Linked DNA regions of Homo sapiens: regions 1 and 3 are each linked to region 2. Evidence: promoter capture Hi-C in human tissues and cell types (Jung and others, 2019). All regions are on one chromosome and are shown on one strand. Each heading gives the region's core, a stretch centred on a gene start or on the middle of the fragment in contact. The rest is flanking DNA. Distances are from core to core; before and after follow the strand shown. Region 1 overlaps ZNF704 (zinc finger protein 704). Region 2 holds the start of ZNF704 (zinc finger protein 704). Region 3 has its middle 54 kb from the start of ZNF704.

Region 1 (2,709 bases), core at 83-2,582, 48 kb after region 2:
AGTCATGAAGTCCTTGCCCATGCCTATGTCCTGAATCGTATTGCCTAGGTTTTCTTCTAGGGTTTTTATGGTTTTAGGTCTAACATTGAAGTCTTTAATCCATCTTGAAATAATTTTTGTATAAGGTGTAAGGAAGGGATCCAGTTTCAGCTTTCTACATATGGCTAGCCAGTTTTCCCAGCACCATTTACTAAATAGGGAATCCTTTCCCCATTTCTTGCTTTTGTCAGTTTTGTCAAAGATCAGATGGTTGTAGATGTGTGGTATTATTTCTGAGGGCTCTGTTCTGTTCCATTGGTCTATATCTCTGTTTTGGTACCAGCACCATGCTGTTCTGGTTACTGTAGCCTTGTAGTATAGTTTGAAGTCAGGTAGCGTGATGCCTCCAGCCTTGTTCTTTTGGCTTAGGATTGACTTGGCAATGTGGGCTCTTTTTTGGTTCCATATGAACTTTAAAGTAGTTTTTTTCCAATTCTGTGAAGAAAGTCTTGGTAGCTTGATAGGGATGGCATTGAATCTATAAATTACCTTGGGCAGTATGGCCATTTTCATGATATTGATTCTTCCTATCCATGAGCATGGAATATTCTTCCATTTGTTTGTGTCCTCTTCTATTTTGTTGAGCAGTGGTTTGTAACTCTCCTTGAAGAGGTCCTTCACATCCCTTGTAAGTTGGATTCCTAGATATTTTATTCTCTTTGAAGTAATTGTGAATGGGAATTCACTCATGATTTGGCTGTTTGTCTGTTATTGGTGTATAGGAATGCTTGTGATTTTTGCACATTGATTTTGTATCCTGACACTTTCCTGAAGTTGCTTATCAGCTTAAGGAGATTTTGGGCTGAGATGATGGGGTTTTCTAAATATACAATGATGTCATCTGCAAACAGGGACAATTTGGCTTCCTCTTTTCCTAATTGAATGCCCTTTATTTCTTTCTTCTGCCTGATTGCCCTGGCCAGAACTTCCAACACTGTGTTGAATAGGAGTGGAGAGAGAGGGCATCCATGTCTTGTGCCAGTTTGCAAAGGGAATGCTTCCAGTTTTTGCCCACTCAGTATGATATTCGCTGTGGGTTTGTCATAAATAGCTCTTATTATTTTGAGATATGTCCCATCAATACCTAATTTATTGAGAGTTTTTAGCATGAAGGGTTGTTGAATTTTGTTAAAGGCCTTTTCTGCATCTATTGAGATAATCATGTGGTTTTTTTCTTTGGTTCTGTTTATATGATGGATTACATTTATTGATTTGTGTATGTTGAACCAGCCTTGCATCCCAGGGATGAAGCCAACTTGCTTGTGGTGGATAAGCTTTGTGATATGCTGCTGGATTCGGTTTGCCAGTATTTTACTGAGGATTTTTGCATTGATGTTCATCAGGGATATTGGTCTAAAATTCTCCTTTTTTGTTGTGTCTCTGCCCGGCTTTGGTATCAGGATGATGCTGGCCTCATAAAATGAGTTAGGGAGGATTCCCTCTTTTTCTATTGATTGGAATAGTTTCAGAAGGAATGGTACCAGCTCCTCTTTGTACCTCTGGTAGAATTCGCCTGTGAATCCGTCTGTTCCTGGACTTTTTTTGGTTTGTAGGCTATTATTGCGTCAATTTCAGAGCCTGTTATTGGTCTATTCAGGGATTCAACTTCTTCCTGGTTTAGTCTTGGGAGGGTATATGTGTCCAGTTATTTATCCATTTCTTCTAGATTTTCTAGTTTATTTGCATAGAGGTGTTTATAGTATTCTCTGATGGTAGTTTGTATTTCTGTGGGATCGGTGGTGATATCTCCTTTATGATTTTTTATTGTGTCTATTTGATTCTTCTCTCTTTTCTTCTTTGTTAGTCTTGCTAGTGGTCTATCAATTTTGTTGATCTTTTCAAAAAACCACCTCCTGGATTCATTGATTTTTTTGAAGGGTTTTTTGTGTCTCTATTTCTTTCAGTTCTGCTCTGATCTTAGTTATTTCTTGCCTTCTGCTAGCTTTTGGATGTGTTTGCTCTTGCTTCTCTAGTTCTTTTAATTGTGATGTTAGGGTGTCAATTTTAGATCTTTCCTTCTTTCTCTTGTTGGCATTTAGTGCAATAAATTTCCCTCCAGACACTGCTTTAAATGTGTCCCAGAGGTTCTTGTATGTGGTGTCTTTGTTCTCATTGGTTTCAAAGAACATCTTTATTTCTCCCTTCATTTCGTGATGTACCCAGTAGTCATTCAGGAGCAGGGTGTTCAGTTTCCATGTAGTTGAGTGGTTTTGAGTGAGTTTCTTAATCCTGAGTTCTAGTTTGATTGCACTGTGGTCTGAGAGACAGTTTGTTATAATTTCTGTTCTTTTACATTTGCTGAGGAGTGCTTTACTTCCAACTATGTGGTCAATTTCGGAATAAGTGCAGTGTGGTGCTGAGAAGAGTGTATATTCTGTTGATTTGGGGTGGAGAGTTCTGTAGATGTCTATTAGGTCTGCTTGGTGCAGAGCTGAGTTCAATTCCTGAATATCCTTGTTAACTTTCTGTCTTGTTGATCTGTCTAACATTGACAGTGGGGTGTTAAAGTCTCCCATTATTATTGTGTGGGAGTCTAAGTCTCTTTGTAAGTCTCTAAGGACTTGCTTTATGAATCTGGGTGCTCCTGTATTGGGTATATAAATATTTAGGATAGTTAGCTCTTCTTGTTGAATTGATCCCTTTACCATTATGTAATGGCCTTCCTTGTCT
Region 2 (2,700 bases), core at 20-2,519:
GGGGTGGATTCAAAATGCATTTTAGAAAGAACAATGGGTTGGACTTGTGGGCAATTGCCTCTAGGGATAAGGTAGAGAAGGGAGTTAAAATGATACCGCTATTTTGGGCTCAAATGATTATAATGAGAGTTTCATCACCTGAAATAGGTACATCAGGAAGCTAATCTGATTCAGGGAGAACAAAAAGTTCATTTTAGAATCTTTGTCATCATCCCTGTTCAACAGTTGGAAGCCACCATAAGTGAGCATTTAATGAGCCCCATTCAAGTGTCTAACAGAGCATATGATGTTAAATGTCCAACAATAATTAACTGAAGGTGAATACACCTTTTATTCTGGCCCCACGGAGGTGCCTACCAGGGTATTTGATGCGTAAGATCCTCCCCAGCCCTCCTCTACAGGGATGGAATTGGGGGTATGATTTGAATGTAAGAAATACGACTTAAGGCCGGGCACGGTGGCTCACACCTGTAATCCCAGCACTTTGGGAGGCCAAGGCAGGCAAATCATCTGAGGTCAGGAGTTTGAGACCAGCCTGGCCAACATGGTGAAACCCTGTCTCTACGAAAAATACAAAATTAGCATGGCATGGTGGAGCGCGCCTTTAATCCCAGGTACTCAGGAGGCTGAGGCAGGAGAATCGCTTGAACCCAGGTGGCGGAGGTTACAGTGAGCCCAGACCATGACATTGCACTCCAGCCTTGGCAACAAGAGCGAAACTCCATCTGAAAAATAAAGAAATATATATAAATAAAAATTAAAATAAATAAAAGAAGAAATACCACTTACTACATAGCCTAACCCCACGCAATAGCAAATATATTTTCTTTATCACACCTAAAAATCGTCAGAAAATGGCAAAATTAGTCATGTTATGTGCTTGATTTCCAGATTTGGTCTTACTTCATATTAATTTCTTAAGTAACCAACTCAAACGATCTTGAACTCCCACCCATTTGTTTCTTCAAAGTCCTGAACAATGCCAGAAGAGAGTCTACAGATCAGACAGTGCAAACAGAAAGCTTCTTGGAATTCAGCCATTAAAATCAGGCACTCAAGGTAGAATAGCAGGAGTAAAAGCTGAAAGACCTACACACTCAGCACAGAGCCAAGGCAGCTCAATCGCAGGGCCTAGAGTGGTGCGTTCAAAGAGTGTGAGATTGGTAGACAATCGCTCATGAAACAGTGTTTCGAAAATCTAAGCGACTCTGATGATTCATATTAGGAATTCATCCCAAACCTCAGATTGGTACACCTTCCTTGATTTCACACAAGCTCAGGAGTAGCTGCCATGCACATCAGTGTCCATTAAAATGACTTGTAGCAAATCTCTACGTTCAAAGTCTAACTTTGACAGACAACCTTACTTCCAGCGAAGTCTACTCCCCTCCCTCCGGAGGGAAGAATGGGCTGCGGTTAAGCGTTTGCCCTGGTGTCAGGGCCAACTGCTTCGAAGCGCCAGACTTTCGGAGACTGTGGGTAAGAGAAAAAAAAAATCCAGTCCGGGTTTTGTCTGAGCGGGGGGACCGGAGGGTTGTGAGGAATGGCTCGCGAAGAGGGGGGCGGTGGTGGAAAACATACAACACAAACAGCTCGCGCCGAGGCACGGCAGCGGTAGGCCCGGAGCGCGCGGGCGCAGCCGGCCGGGAGAGGCGCGCGCGGGCTCGGCCGCCGGCCGCATGGAGCGCAGCGCGGCCCGCGGCTCCCGGGCGGCGGCGGCGGCGGCGGAGGCGGCAGCGCGCCGCTCGCTCACACCCACCCCCGCCCGCGGCCGCCGCGCCGCCCCGCCGTAGCCGCCGGCCGCCGGCGTCCCCGCCGGCCGGTCCAGCGAAGGCGGCGCCCGCGCCTCTGCAGCCAGTGGCAGCCGCGGGTCCTGGCCGGCGGCTCCTGCAGCCCCTTGCGGCCGCGAGTCCCCGGCCCTGCGGCCACCGGCGGAGGCAGAGGAGGAAGAGGAGGTGACAAACTCTCCGGCCCCGCGCCGCGGCCCGCAACCCCGCGCTCAGGCATGCAGGCGCGGCGTCTAGCCAAGCGCTCCAGCCTGGGCAGCCGCCGGGGGGGCGCCGCGCTGCAGCCTGCCGGGCCGGCGCCCGCGCCCGCCAAGGAAGCCGCCCTACCCGGGCTCCCGCCCCCTGTCCCGGGCCCGGCCCCGGCGCCCGCCCCGGAGAGCTGGAGGCCGCCGCTGCCGCCGCCGCCGCGCAGCGCCGGGACCGGCCCCCCTCGGGCCACCGGGGCCGCCGCCGCCGCCTCGTCGCCGGTGCTGCTGCTTCTAGGGGAGGAAGACGAGGACGAGGAGGGCGGGAGCAGGCGGCGGAGGGGGCTCGGGCGTGTGGAGGAGAAGCCCCGAGGGGGCGCGGAGGAGGAGGATGACGACGAGGAAGAGGAGGACGAGGAGGTGGTCGTCGAGGTGGTGGACGGCGACGAAGACGACGAGGACGGCGAGGAGCGTTTCGTGCCCCTCGGACCCGGCCACGCAGTCCCCAGGGGCCCGGCCCGGGGCGCGTTGAAGGTGCGTGTTGGGCGCGGTGGCGCGCGTGGGACCCGCCAGCCCGGGGAGGGGGACGGGCCCGGGCCCCGGGGCAAGGCGCCTGGCCGAGGACGGTCAGCGGCGCCGGGGAGAGACCCGGCCAGGAGGGGTGTGTCAGGCGGCGCGGGCGGCCGCGCGGGGCAGCGCGAGGAACTGTTGATTTGCCTGCGCCTTGG
Region 3 (2,705 bases), core at 61-2,560, 54 kb before region 2:
TACTAAAAATACAAAAATTAGCCAGGTGTGGGGGTGTACCTGTAGTCCCAGCTGCTCAGGAGGCTGAGGTAAGAAAATCATTTGAACCTGGGAGGCAGAAGTTACAGTGAGCCGAGATCGCACCACTGCACTCCAGCCTGAGTGACAGAATGAGACCCTGTCTCAAAAAAGAACAACAAACAGATAATGTGGAGAAATTGGAAGCTTCATACACTGCGAGTGAGGATGTGAGGTGGTGCAGCCACTTTAGAACACACTCTGTCAGTTCCTCAAAGAGTTAAACATAGAGTTACCGTATCACCCAGCGGCACTACTCGTAGGTATCAACCCAAAAGAAATGAAAACATAGGACCACACCAAAACTTGTACATGAATGTTCGCATTAGTATTACTCATAATAGCCAAAAAGTGGAAACAACTCAAATGTCCATTAACTAATGAATAAATAAACAAAATATGGTATATCAATAAAGTGAAATGTTATTCAGCAATAAAAAGGAATGAAGCAGTGGAAAGTGCTACAATAGAGATGAACCCTGGAACATTATGCTAAATGGAAGAGGCCAGTCACAAAGGACCATATATTACATTATTCCATTTATATAAAATGTCCAAAATAGTCAATTATGGTTACAAAGGACAACCTACTGTATCCTCATGGTGGTGAAGCCATTCTGTATTTTGACTTTGGTGGTAAATATGCCAGCCTACACAGGCAATAAAAATTGCATAGTGCTAAATACAAACACACACATGCACAGACATAGACACACACATAAGCCCAAGTAAAATGGAGAAAATCTGAGTAAGATTTGTATCAATGTCAATATGCTAGTCTTAATGTCGTATTACAGTTTTACAAGATGTTATCATTGAGGGAAATTGACAAAGGATACACAGAATTTCTCTGTATTACTTTTTACAACCACATGTGAATCTAAATTATCTCAAAATAAAAAGTTTGATTAATAATAAATAAAATAATACAATAAAATAACTTTTTGACCAAAAAAAAAAAAAACCACTGAGCAGAAGAAAATAAAAAAAAAAAGGGATTATAGTATGCAGAAGACACAAAGCCTAACCTAGCTAACACTTTTTTTTTTTTTTTTGAGGTGGAGTCTTACTCCCGTCATGCAGGCTGGAGTGCAGTGGCATGATCTCGGCTCACTGCAACCTCTACCTCCCAGGTCAAGCGATTCTCCTTCCTCAGCCTCCCAAGTCGGTGGGATTACAGGCACGCACCACCACACCTGGCTAATTTTTGTATATTTAATAGAGATGGGGTTTCATCATGTTGGCCAGGTTGGTCTTGAACTCCTGACCTCAGGTGATCCACCTACCTCGGCCTCCCAAGGTGCTAGGATTACAGGTGTGAGCCAACACACCCGCCCCTAAAAATTTAACTTAAGCCAATAGAAGCATATTAATCACACTCATTTCTTGCTAGAGTAAATTGGAATAAAAATATCAAATCAGTAAGGCAACAAGAAAATGAGATTTTAAAAAGAATTTCTTATAAAATACAACATTATAGAGCTAATATAAAATTAAAACAATAAAAACTGGTGAATATTAAATTACTGACAATATCGCAAATAAAAAAATTAAATAGGAGACAATATATGTGGTAGATAAACATAATCCAATATAAGAAGAATTGATGTATCTGAATTGAAAAACCACAAAATAGAAGATATATTCAAAGATATAAGAGAATTATCTGAATTTTAAGATATCACTGAAACTGCAGATAAAATTGAACCATGTTCCAGGAACATTCCAATTCAGTTAATATCAAAGTTTACCCTATGTACAGTATTGAACTTGAAGAAAATCTTCAGGCACCTGCCAGGCAAGATAAATTACCTAGAAGGAAGAAAATCAAGTTGGTTTCAGACTTGCTGCAACATCATTCACTGCCAAAAAATAATAAAGCACTGAAATCAGGCTTACTCACTATAAAAATATGGCTCTGTGTACATCTTACTCCAGACAAGTATAGGCAATAGAAACAATAAAGCAGAAGACTGAAGCTGTAAATTTGTGTCATGGCAATATAACAAAGAAAGGAATGTGAGAAAAATTTAATGAGCTCATTTTCTGAAACTGCAGGTAGTATGAAATTAATAATGAAATATGATCAGTAGTTTAGGGGATACAATACAGATATTATCAATCAGCAATTACTTTTGTGTCCAGAATTTTACTGCAACCCTCCACACCCCTATAGCTATGTCTCACTTTATGGAGAGAAGTTCAATGCTCAGTGAGGTTAACTTGCTCTGAATCACACAGGTAGGCCCACAATTTGAACTCCGTTCTACCTAACTCAAGGCCGATTCTTACTTAACAAAACCATGTAATCTTATGTCTAGATGGTGAAATTATACATGGTTTCAATTTTCTTGTTTTCGCTTATTTTTTTTCTGAAGTTTCAACAATAACATATGCTGCTTTTGCTATTTTTTTAAAAAGTAGGAATCTTTAAAGATTCACACAAAGGTTATTTTTCATAGGAGCAATATATAATCTCTAATCTTTGGAATTTTAACTTTCATGATGCCAGGATAGTGGTTGAAACTGGTTGGTCATTTTTCTCACCTTTTTACTCTTTTTTTGTGGGGATGCGGCAAGGGGGAAGTAGGTTAAATACAAAATAAATTCAGAAATAATAACCACAAATTCAGAAATTAAACTGGCTG

What was found. The method cuts DNA at HindIII sites, captures the fragments that hold promoters and counts their contacts. A contact is called where the count stands out against the background at its distance.
Region 1: a contact is called between a fragment that was not itself captured here and the fragment with the promoter of ZNF704 in region 2, in 2 of the 25 tissues and cell types used here (adrenal gland and dorsolateral prefrontal cortex).
Region 3: a contact is called between a fragment that was not itself captured here and the fragment with the promoter of ZNF704 in region 2, in 3 of the 25 tissues and cell types used here (bladder, hippocampus and liver).

Annotation. Positions count from the first base shown.
Region 1 is chr8:80,825,320-80,828,028 of GRCh38, reverse strand. All of the region lies in intron 1 of ZNF704 (zinc finger protein 704), which reads left to right. Among named protein-coding and RNA genes, the nearest start is that of ZNF704, 48 kb to the left of the region's middle. The HindIII fragment of the contact is 5,386 bases long and covers 1-2,709 here.
Region 2 is chr8:80,873,350-80,876,049 of GRCh38, reverse strand. ZNF704 (zinc finger protein 704) reads left to right here and starts at 1,269. Exons shown (of 9, transcript NM_001033723.3): 1 at 1,269-1,479. RefSeq lists a silencer at 2,390-2,590. The HindIII fragment of the contact is 4,011 bases long and covers 1-2,700 here.
Region 3 is chr8:80,926,980-80,929,684 of GRCh38, reverse strand. No RefSeq gene overlaps it. Among named protein-coding and RNA genes, the nearest start is that of ZNF704, 54 kb to the right of the region's middle. The HindIII fragment of the contact is 4,418 bases long and covers 1-2,705 here.